Linked DNA regions of Homo sapiens: all the other regions are linked to region 1. The links are contacts of gene promoters, found by promoter capture Hi-C in blood cells and fetal thymus (Javierre and others, 2016). All regions are on one chromosome and are shown on one strand. The core of a region is centred on a gene start or on the middle of the fragment in contact, and the rest is flanking DNA. Distances in the headings are between cores, read along the strand shown. Region 1 holds the start of INTS12 (integrator complex subunit 12). Region 2 holds the start of CXXC4 (CXXC finger protein 4). Region 3 overlaps PAPSS1 (3'-phosphoadenosine 5'-phosphosulfate synthase 1).

Region 1 (3,683 bases), core at 505-3,004:
AGCCTGGCCAACATGGTGAAACCCCTCCTCGACTGAAAAAAAAAAAAAAAAAAAAGGAGCCGAGTGTGATTGTGGGCGCCTGTAATCCCAACTACTCGGGAGGCTGAGGCAGGAGAATTGCTTGAGCCCGGGAGGCGGATGTTGCCATTGCAATCCATCCCCAGGCGACAGAGCAGGACTCCAGCTCAAAAAAAAAAAAAAAAAAAAAAATTGATGGGCCCACTACTACAGAAGCTCAAGTTTGAGCTGTGTTTAAATTAAAGCAAAAACACGTAGAAGTGCAAAGTATATAAAATAAAAAGAAATGATGATTCTCAAATCTCATTGACCTTTTCAGTCTTATTTTTGAAGTGAGACCTCACAAAACGATACTTTCAGGTGTAATACAAACACAATTTTTAGTAATGAGTGTGCTTAAAGCAATCCTCTCAGTGGTGTATGCTCCCCATCAGGCAGTTAAAAAAAAAGAAAAAAAAACCCGCATAGCTTAATGTTTATTAAATATGACAGCGAATCACTTAGTTGTGTTATAACAGTTTATTATCATGGATTTAAATGACTATGTTTACATGTTTAAAATTATCACATCACTAGTTCTTGCTAGCTTTTGCATTTTCTCCTGTAAACATTGTTTTTACAGATAAGCTTAGGTAAAATAGAAATACACCACCTTCTTTATCAATAATGTAGCACACAATATATTACTAAAGCTGGCATTTTCTTGATATTCAAGAATTTATGACAAGGAATGGGATCCTGGCATTAAGAATAAAGGGGAAAAAAACAAGTCATCTCATCCCAAAACCAGGTAGAAAGTTGGGATGGGAAGTACGTGTATTAGCAAACGTTTTTGAAACCAAAGCAACTTTCATGCAAATTAAACTTTCTATAGAAGTTAAAAACCCAAGAGATACTGCTGTGATGACAAAACATAAGCAAATGGCCCCAAATGAAGCAAGTCCTTTGGAGTAAATGTTAAGTAGTATTCACATAGAACTGCTTTCTGCAATCAGGAAGGGCTGGAATGGAAAACTCAATGCCAAAGAGAGAAGAGAAGTTAGTGTGACCCAAGAGGTCTTGAAGTAACACTTAACAGCAAATATCAAACCACCCCAACCAACGCCTCCAACTGGAAGCTGCCCCATTTCTCCATCAGCAGAGGAAGACATGAGGGACTGGCTAGGGGGAAACTGGGAAACGCGTACTACCGAGAAGCCCAGAGCCCTCAACCCGCACCTTCAGCAGGAGTGGCCAAAAAGGAGTTTGAGGCGGCCCCAGGGCGGGAGAAAAATCAGGACGATGATACCACGCCCTTGTCCTTCCCACCCTTCCCCCGCATCCTCAGCCCTGCAGACCCCCGAAGAAAAGACCAGTTCTTAGGGGGTCGCGGAGGCTGAGAAGCCGGCGGCCCGAGCGCCCTCTTTACCTGGTCGCAGAGGCGCGGCCAGGCAGGGAGGGTGCGTGAGCGTGTCGGCGACCTGGGCCGCCTGCGCCTTCCCGCCCAGTCCGAGCTGGAATTCCAAGGCTGCCTCTGGGAGCTGCTGCCCGCAGACCACTCGCCTCCACAGACGCCAGGAGAAAAACGACAGCCACCTTATGTGGAAAATACTCGCGCCGGCCGTCATTCATAATCCGGCGGACCGGAAAAAGGGAAGTAACGTCACTTCCTACTGTCGCACTGCCAAACGTTTCCCCCGCCCCTACTGTGGGAACCTTTGTTTTCCTGCTTTCGGAGCCGGCCAGTGCGGGAACCGTTTCCGAAGGGACCACCGGGAACAGACGGATCGGCAGGGCGGGGCGGAACGGTGAGTTATGCTGAGCGACTCTGCTCCTGGCCTCCTGGAGGCTCGAGACCCCCGCGCCAGGAGCGAGGTGGGAGAGTAGCTACGTGGGGTATTAGTTTCCTCGCTCCTCAAGGGGAATCATAATTTACGGGCGGTTGCGTGCCCTAGACTGACTGCTCTCCCCTTTCAGTGAGGACTGTGCTTCCTCCGAGGGAGTTGCGGGCCGGGACATGCGGACCGAGCATATTTCTAGGTCTAGGGACAAGGGACTTGGAATCCTGCCTCGGACTTTGTCGGAGGGTTTTAGTGACTTCTCTACGTAGCTCCCTCATTGTCTCTCATCTTTTGGCTCCCCTGTCAAGGACCATCCCCCATTCTAGGACTTCGATGTGTGATGCTTTGATCAAAGGATTGACATTCCTTTTCTAAGTGTTTGCTGTCAGCTTTCAGCCACTTGATTGGTTTGGAATCGGAGCCTTTTCTCCTGCGATTCCAGGTGTCCCTAAGGTATCAGTGTTATCCAGAACCAAGAACTCAGTGGAGGAATGAAAAAGGCAGCATCTTTAAAATAATGTTTATTGGAAGGGGTTGCAAGAGCTTGCGAAGTCATGAAGAACAAAGTTTTTTAGAGCCATTATGAAATGGCAACGATAATACTGCACTCTATGTGAACAGTTTCTGTTTCCTTCATCTGGGGCACGTGCATATGATCAACTTTGGACTTCTTTTGAGATTGCCAGGTAGGGTGAAAAATGGATCTAGGAGAAAGCACATACTTATATTTATATATGAATGCCCAATTTAGACTGGAGAGATCACAGAAGCCTTATAAGGTGACATTTACGCAAAAAACCTAGTTCGTTCATTCGATAAATATTTTTGAGCCCTTATTAAGTTTCAAGCACTAGGGAAATAACAGTGAACAAAACAAGTTCCTGCTGTCATCAAGTTTACAGACCAGTGGGATTAATGAATTAAGCAAGACAGGCGAAAGATTGTGAGAATTTTACAGATAGGAACATTGTACTACAAGTCCCCAGTCGTGAAAGAGGTGATTGCTTTGCTTTTGCTTTTTTGATGTTTGGAGTTTTTTTTGTGGGGGCAGGGGTGAGTTACTTTTGTGATTTTTGCTGAAGGGACCTTGGAAATGGCTACAATTGTGTAGAAGGAGAGATAAGACCACTATACTTTGATCACTTAATTCCAGTAATTCTATAGCCATTATTTTGTTGTACTTTGCAAAGTGGCAAAGAGATAGGCAAAAAGATAAATATAGACTCTGCCCTTAAAGTACTCAGAGTTTTGTAGGGGACATAACACTTGTGCCAAAAAAAAAAAAAAATGCTTCAAGGGAGAAAGTTGCAATACCATGAAAAAGCACTATGAGATATCCTTGAATGGAGAGACTATTAATAGGGTTTGGAATGGAGAGGGGCACAGCAGCTGTCAGTCAAATCTTCATGAGAAGTATTTGAATAGGGTCTTGATAGGATGTAGATATATAAAAATAGGTAAAGAGCTTCCTGGACAAAAAAAATAAGAGTGGCAGGGTCAGCTAGCTATAAGGCAGATCTGGGGATGATGAATGATAATTTTTGTGCCAGTTACTGAATCTTCTTAAATGCTAGGCCAAGAAATTTGGTCTTTATTTCGAAGGTGGTAGAAAGCCCTAACTTCTCAGCAAGAATTTTTTTTTTTATTTTAATGAAAAAGAAGAAAACTGGGTTTCAGGAAAATTCATATGGCAACAATGTTGAAGTCAAGGAAAATAACGAGGTTATTGCCATAGTTCAAGTAAGCTAATAAAACCTGAATTTCAGTAGTAGCAGTGGAAGTGAAAAGTAGGACAAGTGTGAAAAATATTGCCGTCAGAATCCACAGGAATTCTGATTATTTGAA
Region 2 (3,902 bases), core at 949-3,448, 1.2 Mb after region 1:
ACACTAATGGGTCATTAATAGGGGCTATTATTATTAATTATTAAGACCAAGAATTCTGTAGTTTTCCTTCATTAGCTGGAAAGTAAAATTCATTGGAATTTAGAACATATTTTCTCTCACGTGTTTAAGATTTCATTTTGAAAGTAAGCTTGAAGAGTCCCAAAAAGGAAAGCATGAGAAAAGGAATTTCCAAAAAGGAAAATTTCCAGAAAAGAAAATTTGGCAAAAGAAAGCATGATGTCTTTATTTGATTAAAAACATTGCTTATTTATAAACTTCAAAATTTCTAACATTGGACTGATATTTTAAATATTGTGAAAAGATGTTTAAGAATCTATCATTTTTCTAGCATGTTTTCACTCATTAAAAAGTGACCACATTTTCCTGATAAATTTCCTATGAAGCTGAGCTAAAACAAAATAATCAAATGGAAAATTTCCTTTTTTGCTTTTATAATGCATTAGCACAAGAATAAAAATATCTTATTAACTTGAATAATTATTAACCCTCCAGTTATTTTGTCTATAGATGTCAAATAACCGGTAATAATCAAACAGCTTATGCTTTAAAAAAATTACAAAACATGTATATTAATCAATGAGTCACAAAATACACCTGTTTCCTATTGCAATAGTAGCCCACTCTTGAAATAACACCTTCATTTAGGCATACACACACCACAGTTTCAAACTTGTTATCAACAATTTATCCTCCATAGTTGGTAATGTCTTGATATGGTCAAAGTCTATCTTTTGAAAATTCAAATACAAAATGGTTTAAAATGTCTTTTCAGCTTTTTTTTCTTATTAAAGAAACAAAACATTATATTTTCCTCACTTATCTGAACAATTAATATTGCATTACTCTAGAATAAACACTTAATTTTAATACAAAACTTGTACTCTGCTTGATAACACCAATTTAAATAATCTTAAGTTTTTTCTTTCCTACTCTATAACTTACCTTAGCCACTGTTTTGCTCTTAGAAAAAAAATTATTCAAAAGTATTCATAATTCTGTATCTTATAACTATTTCCACTAGAGTATACTTTAATAGTAGGATAGCATGTGTCCACAAATATTTTATTTGAGGCAGCAGTGAAGAGGTTAATTTACAGCTGCATTTATGAACGAGTTTTATTTATATTTGACGTGCCGTACAATATTTATGTTTCAATTCATAAACTATGTTTTCCCAAGTGGCAAGAAGTGAAATGTTAATTACATACTATTCTAAAATAGACTGAAAGACAAAAGTTTTTGTTTAAGTAAAGTTTGAAATTAAAAAATAGGGCAGTGAGTTAAAAATCTGATTTATTCTTTGGAACTACCAGATGGAATAGTAAAAGAGGATTTTGGGAGGAGAGAGAGAAGAGTAGAGAAGAGAGACAGAGATTGAGATGGATTTTGAAATTGGCCAAGCATCATATCACCGATTTTTTACATTCTGGCATAATAGTACTTCGAGGGTCTGAAGAACCACACCGGTCCGTTTTCCCTTACTTTAAAGATCTAAATGGTATTTTTTTTTAAAGTCTTCCTGGGTACACCAGGAAATTTATTTAAAACCATGCCATTGGGTACGAACTAAGAGCATTCTTCAAACAAACATGACCTTTTCTCTGTTTCTTGTATTGCTCTTCTCAACCCAGCCAGAAATCCCAGACAAGTTTATTTACACACACACCCGCACACGCACGCACACACACACCCCACACGCAGAGTGGCGGAAACGCCCTCTTTCCAACCCTTCCAAACAATTATCTCCGAGAGCAAAAGAAAATAATCAACAGCCCTGTGTGCTGGGCTGAGCCGGAGAGCCGGGCGCGAGGAGGGAGGGCGATCCGCAGGCGAGCAGGGAAAACGTGGCTCCTCTGCCGAGGAGAGGATTTGTGAAAAGGAGCGCTGGCCCGCGTGCGCCTCTTGTTCCCCGTGTAATTTGCAGCCAATCATCAGTAGGTGTCCACGTCCCTGCGTCCTCCTCACCTCGGCGCCAATCACCCCCACCCCCGCGCCCCCGCCCCCAGCCTCCACACCTCCTCCCTCGCCTTTCTCTGTGGCTCCCCTCCCCCAGCAACCGCACACTCGCACACACACAAACAGAGAGAGAAGGGGGGAGGGTGAGAGAGAGGGGAAGAGAGAGAGAGAGAGAGAGGGGAGAGAGAGAGGAGAGACTCCCCGGCTCCCTCCCTCCCTCGCACACAGCGACTGGAGACGGACGGAGAGCAACGCGCTGGGAGAGGAGAGACCACCGACAACAGACCCGCGCTCTCACACATACACTCACACTCGACTCTTTCCTCTCCCCCCACCTCCTCCTCCTTCCACCCCCACCACTAACACCATCTCCTCCTCCTTCTCTCTGCAACAAGAAAAAAAAGCCATTTACAGGTATTTTTTTTGATCCGCATATTTATTTACCCCCCCCCCCCCAACAGTTTGTTTACAAGTATTAAAGTTGTAATTGGGAGCTGCCAAGACACATCTGGATTTGTGTTTCTTTGTGTTAGGGGGTGATGTGCAACTAATTAAAGGCAGACTGGCAGCGTCTGCAAATTCTAAGGCTCCCCAAATAAAAAGAGACTGGTAAGTGATTGTTCTTTCTCTTTCTCTGGCTTTTTTTTCTCTTAAATGTTTGCTGTCCGTTGGGATTGTGAAAGTAGATTATTAATGCTGGACTCCAGCAAGAAAAAGCGTCGCTGTATTAATTTATTAATTAGTCTGCACCCGCCCCTCCTCCTGAATGTTAAATATGACCTTTGATCTCTATGTCTCTGGTAGACCAGACATACAGTATTAGGCATGTAAAGTCACATTGTTTAAAGGCAAAACAGGATCATGAAGTATGGATCTCTAATTTAGCTTTGGCATAGAACTATAGTTATTTGTGTGTGTTTTATTTTGTTTTTAAATAAAATCCAAACAATAGCTGTGGCTTAGATACCTTTTTCATGCTCCAGAGATGCATTGATTAAACAATAATGACCTGGATACTGGGCATAATCATTTTCTACAGTTTCTGGTGGTATTAAACCTTGAGGTAGGAAGAGGGATGGTGATGGCAATCAGAAAAGCAAGGAAAGCTTGTGTTTGGAAACACCACTCTAAGACTCTAAAAAAGGGACGTTAAATTATTTATTTATTTGGAACAAGGTCAAAAGACTAAAAGGTTGAAAATTTTCCCTCCACTCAATGTGATGATATCTAATGCATGGTTGACATAACTAGTTTTTACTGAGTAGCAGTTATTATGGTCTTGCAGTTACAATGTGATTCGCAGAAACTGAAGCTATATGCATATTCTTGCTGTGTCTTCCCTCACCCCTTCCAAGCATCAAGAATATTTAGCCAAGAGCATTTTGGGGGCACCTTTTGTATTGCCCTCAGACCTGAGAAGGCAGCAGTTTTCCCTAATGCGAAACCACAGAGGTGGTTCCTGAGTGATTAGGGACTTGCTGTGATTGAAAGATGCCTGCAAGCTTCTAATCCAGCCTGGGGTGAGGTTCCTTATCTTGATTTACTTTGCCTAATAGGGATTTGTTTACATAAACCCCTCTTTTTAGAGCACCTCATCAGTAGGTCTTGAAGTTTTTGCACTTGGAGTTTGGGCATAACTGGTTCATTAACCTAATTATAAGCATAATTACTATAATTGATAACCATTTTGAACTCTGAATATTTGAGACGGAGACTATTGGGCCCCCATGTAGAATTCCCTGAACTCTGCATTCTAGACCAATCTATGGGCTTCAAAAGATGTCACAAAAAGATATTCTGGCCAAAAAATCTGGAAACAAAGAAACTGGTTTTTTAAGTGAATATACACTTTATGCCTTTGCTTTGCTTCTTAAAAGGCTGTGATGTACTTCTCCCTCTGTAATAAACAACTAAAATACCTCTTC
Region 3 (3,728 bases), core at 144-2,643, 2.0 Mb before region 1:
TGGAGCCATTGAGAGTCAGAAATGCAAAAACCTGAAAAGACATCTCAAAAGGCCAATCTTAGGTTCTACAATAGCGATGTCATCTGCAGGAGTAACTGGGGAAGTTGAAAATCTTGTGACTTCTGGAATAGTGGCTGGTAATCATTTATGTTTACACCTTGGGAGGATTCAGGCTCCTCTCATCTCCTAACCTGGTGGTCTTTTATTAGCTTTAAAAGATGGTTTACTTTTGGGGAAGTAGTATTATCATTTAAACTAAAAACTAAATTTCTCCCAAAGTTAGCTTGACCCAAACCCAGCAATACCTAAGGGCAGTTTGGAGGTTAAAGGCAAGATGGAGGTTGGTTAGATCAGATCTTTTTCACTGTTAACAATTTTCTCACTTGTAATTTTTGCAAAGGCTGTTTCAATTCCAGTAGTTTTATAAAAGTGCTCTTTGATTTACTTTGAAAAATTGGGAGTTAGGACAATGTGGCAATTTTTTTTAAGTTTATTTTTTAATATGAAAAATATTGTTAAAAACTTTAGCTGAATTAAATTTAAAAGAGTTTGAGCAAAGAACAATTCGTGAATCAGGCAGCCTCCTGAGCCAGAGTAGGCTCAGAGGCTCCAGTGCAGCTGCATGGTAGAAGATTTATGGACAGAAAAAGGAAAGTGGTGCACAGAAAATGGAAGTGAGGTCCAGAAACAACTGGATTGGTTATAGCTCAGCATTTGACTTATTTGAACATGGTTTGAACAGTTGGCCACATTTGATTGGCCAAAACTCAGTCATTGGCACAAGGGTGGATACAGTCTGTTTGTCTCCAGCTAGGTTAGTTTAGTACATATGGAGAAACCTTTAGGCTGAACTTAAAATATGTAAAAGAGGTAGCTTTAGGCTTAACTTGATTTAACAATATCAAACATACATAAACCAAAAAAAATCTCCTTATATCCAGAGTACTATGTTTGCTGCCAGAATCTTTTTAAATGTAGGAGGCAAGAAACTGAGGGAGCATTCTTTTTAGAGATTAAAACAGACGGTCTCTACTTACCCTGTCTGTATTTTTTCTCAGCCATATTCTCAGCAGTTGATAGCTTGACAGATAATTTTTATGCATTCTAGCTTGATTTGATAAGAAAAGCAGAAGATATTTTACAGAGCCCAAATCAATTAAAATTCATTAGATATATGTTTCTTCTTGTCTATAAAGAGTGAAGTAACTTGGAAAAATCCTCAAACAAAATGACCAAGCCAAACAGGTTCTACCAGTATAGGCAGCAAAATGTGTATAGCACCCTCTGCAATTCCCTTTTAGCAGAGACTTTAGCTCCCTTTTCCTCCTTAGCCAGTATCAATGGGAGCTAAAGCTAAAGAGGTGCCACTGCTTCTCAAGATATACAAATGTCTACTTCTGAAGCCCTCTTTTTTAAGTTCTTGGAAATGTAGAGCTGGTAAGTTGTATTTGCTTCATCAGTTTATTGAAAAGAAATGAATCTAGAGACTCATTACAATTTTTTGTAAGTGATTATTAAATATGTAAAAGTATTTTATTGGAAATAAAGTATTAATAATTATTGTGTAAATAATTATTGTTAATGAGATGAGTAGATGGGAAGGGGTGCAGCTTTTGTGGCATACCTATTAAAAAGAGTTGTCAAATTGTCCCTTTGGTCCCAGAGGATTTTTCAGGTAATGGTAATGATGATAATAAGATTCAGATGTGTGGGAGATGGCATTTCTGCTGTACAGGATTGTGAAGGGGAAGGTAGGAAAAGAGATCCTTAATCTCATGGAAGTTGAAGATTTGTATAGAAATTTAATTCCTTAAAAGTCAAATCTGTGTATTGGTGGAGGTCAGCAAAATGACAGAATGGGACTTCCCAGTGCTTGTCTTCACACAGAAACATAAATTGAACAACTATTCTTGCACAAAAATACTTTAATAAAAGCTAAGGAAACCAGGTGAGAGATGACCGCACCTGGATGTAGCAGAGAAATCAGAAAAAACACATTGAAGAGAGTAGAAAGAACAGTTTTACATGACCTATATTACTGCCCCCAGCCTGCAACCTCAGGCAGCACGTGGAGAAAGATACCCTTTGCTTAGGGGAGGAAGAGGGCAGTAAGCAAAAGATTTTGCCTCAGAACCCAACACCAGGCCCACCTCAGTGAAACTCAGTGCAAGGCAGGCCCCCGTAGCCCCAGACTCCAGGATGGTACCTATGGATTGAGCGTCCAAGCCTACCCTGGTACTAAGCAGGATTCTGCAGCCCAAGGTTCCAGCTCCTCCAACCTCCACCACCAGGCCAGACCCAATTGATGCAAGTTTTAGACTTGTCTTAGGGCCAGGCTGGCCCCAGTGGCCCTGGGCTTAGAGCTACCTTTAGTACCAGGCTGGCTGTCACAGGCAGGCACCTGTGGATACAGGCTTCAAGCTGTCCCAGCTTCAGGCCCTCTCCAGGTTTCAGACCAGCTGAGAGCCAGGTTGGCCCACACAGCCCTGGGCTTCAGGTCTGCCCCAGTACAAGGCCATTCCCTGTAGCCCCACCCTCCAGGCTGGCTGCTGCAACCCCATACTTAAGAGATCCAAGGTTTCAGGACCATCCCAATACATCTCAGCACTATACCAGCTCCCATTGACCCAGGCTGTAAGACCATTTCTGTGGACCCAGGTTCCAGGCCAGCACCCATATGCTGAGCATCTAGGTCAGCTCCCATGGCTTCAGGGCAGGTCCTGTGATTCTAGGTAGGCTTCAGACCAACCACTGTAGACCTAGGCTTCCACATCCGCTCCAGCACCAGCTGAGCTCTGCCTACCTGCTGACCCAGATACCAGGCCAGCCTCCCTGAGGACTCCAGCAGCAAGCCTGCCTGTGCACCATGCCAGATGGCCTTCCCAGATTGGACAGGCTGACTGGTGAAGTGCTTCCCAAATAAAGCCAGTCTACAAAGACTGGAATCAGTCCCTACCTCTTCATTGTACAGATATTGATATAAGACAACAAGAAATGTGAAAAAACAAGGAGACTTAATACTACCAAAAGTATCAAAATAACCTTCCAGTAGCTGATTCAAAAGAAATGGAGATACATGAACTGCCTGAAAAAGAATTAAAAAATAATTGTTTAAGGAAGCCCAGCAAACCTCAATAAAATAGAAATAATTCAGTGTATTCTGGAAAACAACAAATGACCAACATGAGAAATTTAACAGATTGAAATTATTAAAAAAATAAAAAATTCTAGAGCTGAAAAATTTAATGAATAAAATGAAAAATGCAATAGAGAGCATCCATAGAAGCACTGATCAAGCAAAATAATTGTACTTGAAGACAGATTTCTTCCATAGTTAGAGGAGGAAAAAGAAGAATGAAAAGTAATGGAGAAAGCTTACAGGATTTATAGGACAGCATCAAAAGTACAAAAATTGAGGTATAGGAGTTCAAGGAGAAGAGAAAGAGGGTTACAAAGCTTATTTAAATAACAACAGAAAACTTTCCAAATCTGGGGAAAGGTATAAATAAGTACAGGAAGATCAAAAGTTCTAATCAGATTCAATCCAAACAAGACTACCTCAAGACATATAGTTAAACTGTCAAAAATAAAAGAGGATTCTGAAAGCAGCTAGAGAAAAGCAAATCACATACAAGGGAGTTCCAAAAATGCTAGCAGCAGACTTTTCAGCAGAAATTTTGTAGTCCAGGAGAGACTGGGTTGACATGTTCAAAGTGTTGAAGGAAAAA

What was found. Contacts are between HindIII fragments. The CHiCAGO score rates a contact against its expected background, and 5 or more counts as called.
Region 2: the fragment with the promoter of CXXC4 here is called in contact with the fragment with the promoter of INTS12 in region 1 in 2 of 17 cell types (naive CD8 T cells and total CD8 T cells); the score reaches 8.4 in naive CD8 T cells.
Region 3: a fragment that was not itself captured here is called in contact with the fragment with the promoter of INTS12 in region 1 in 1 of 17 cell types (total B cells); the score reaches 6.9 in total B cells.

What each region holds. Positions count from the first base shown.
Region 1 is chr4:105,706,760-105,710,442 of GRCh38, reverse strand. INTS12 (integrator complex subunit 12) reads left to right here and starts at 1,754. Exons shown (of 8, transcript NM_020395.4): 1 at 1,754-1,805. GSTCD (glutathione S-transferase C-terminal domain containing) reads right to left here and starts at 1,659. Exons shown (of 12, transcript NM_001370181.1): 1 at 1,427-1,659. LOC124900747 (a long non-coding RNA gene) reads right to left here. Exons shown (of 2, transcript XR_007058214.1): 2 at 2,347-2,542. RefSeq lists an enhancer at 1,430-1,679. The HindIII fragment of the contact is 4,662 bases long and covers 648-3,683 here.
Region 2 is chr4:104,493,190-104,497,091 of GRCh38, reverse strand. It overlaps CXXC4 (CXXC finger protein 4), which reads left to right and starts at 2,198. Exons shown (of 3, transcript NM_025212.4): 1 at 2,198-2,391. The region is part of intron 1 of CXXC4-AS1 (CXXC4 antisense RNA 1); the gene reads right to left. The HindIII fragment of the contact is 2,935 bases long and covers 151-3,085 here.
Region 3 is chr4:107,705,953-107,709,680 of GRCh38, reverse strand. The region is part of intron 1 of PAPSS1 (3'-phosphoadenosine 5'-phosphosulfate synthase 1); the gene reads left to right. Among named protein-coding and RNA genes, the nearest start is that of PAPSS1, 12 kb to the left of the region's middle. The HindIII fragment of the contact is 3,967 bases long and covers 1-3,376 here.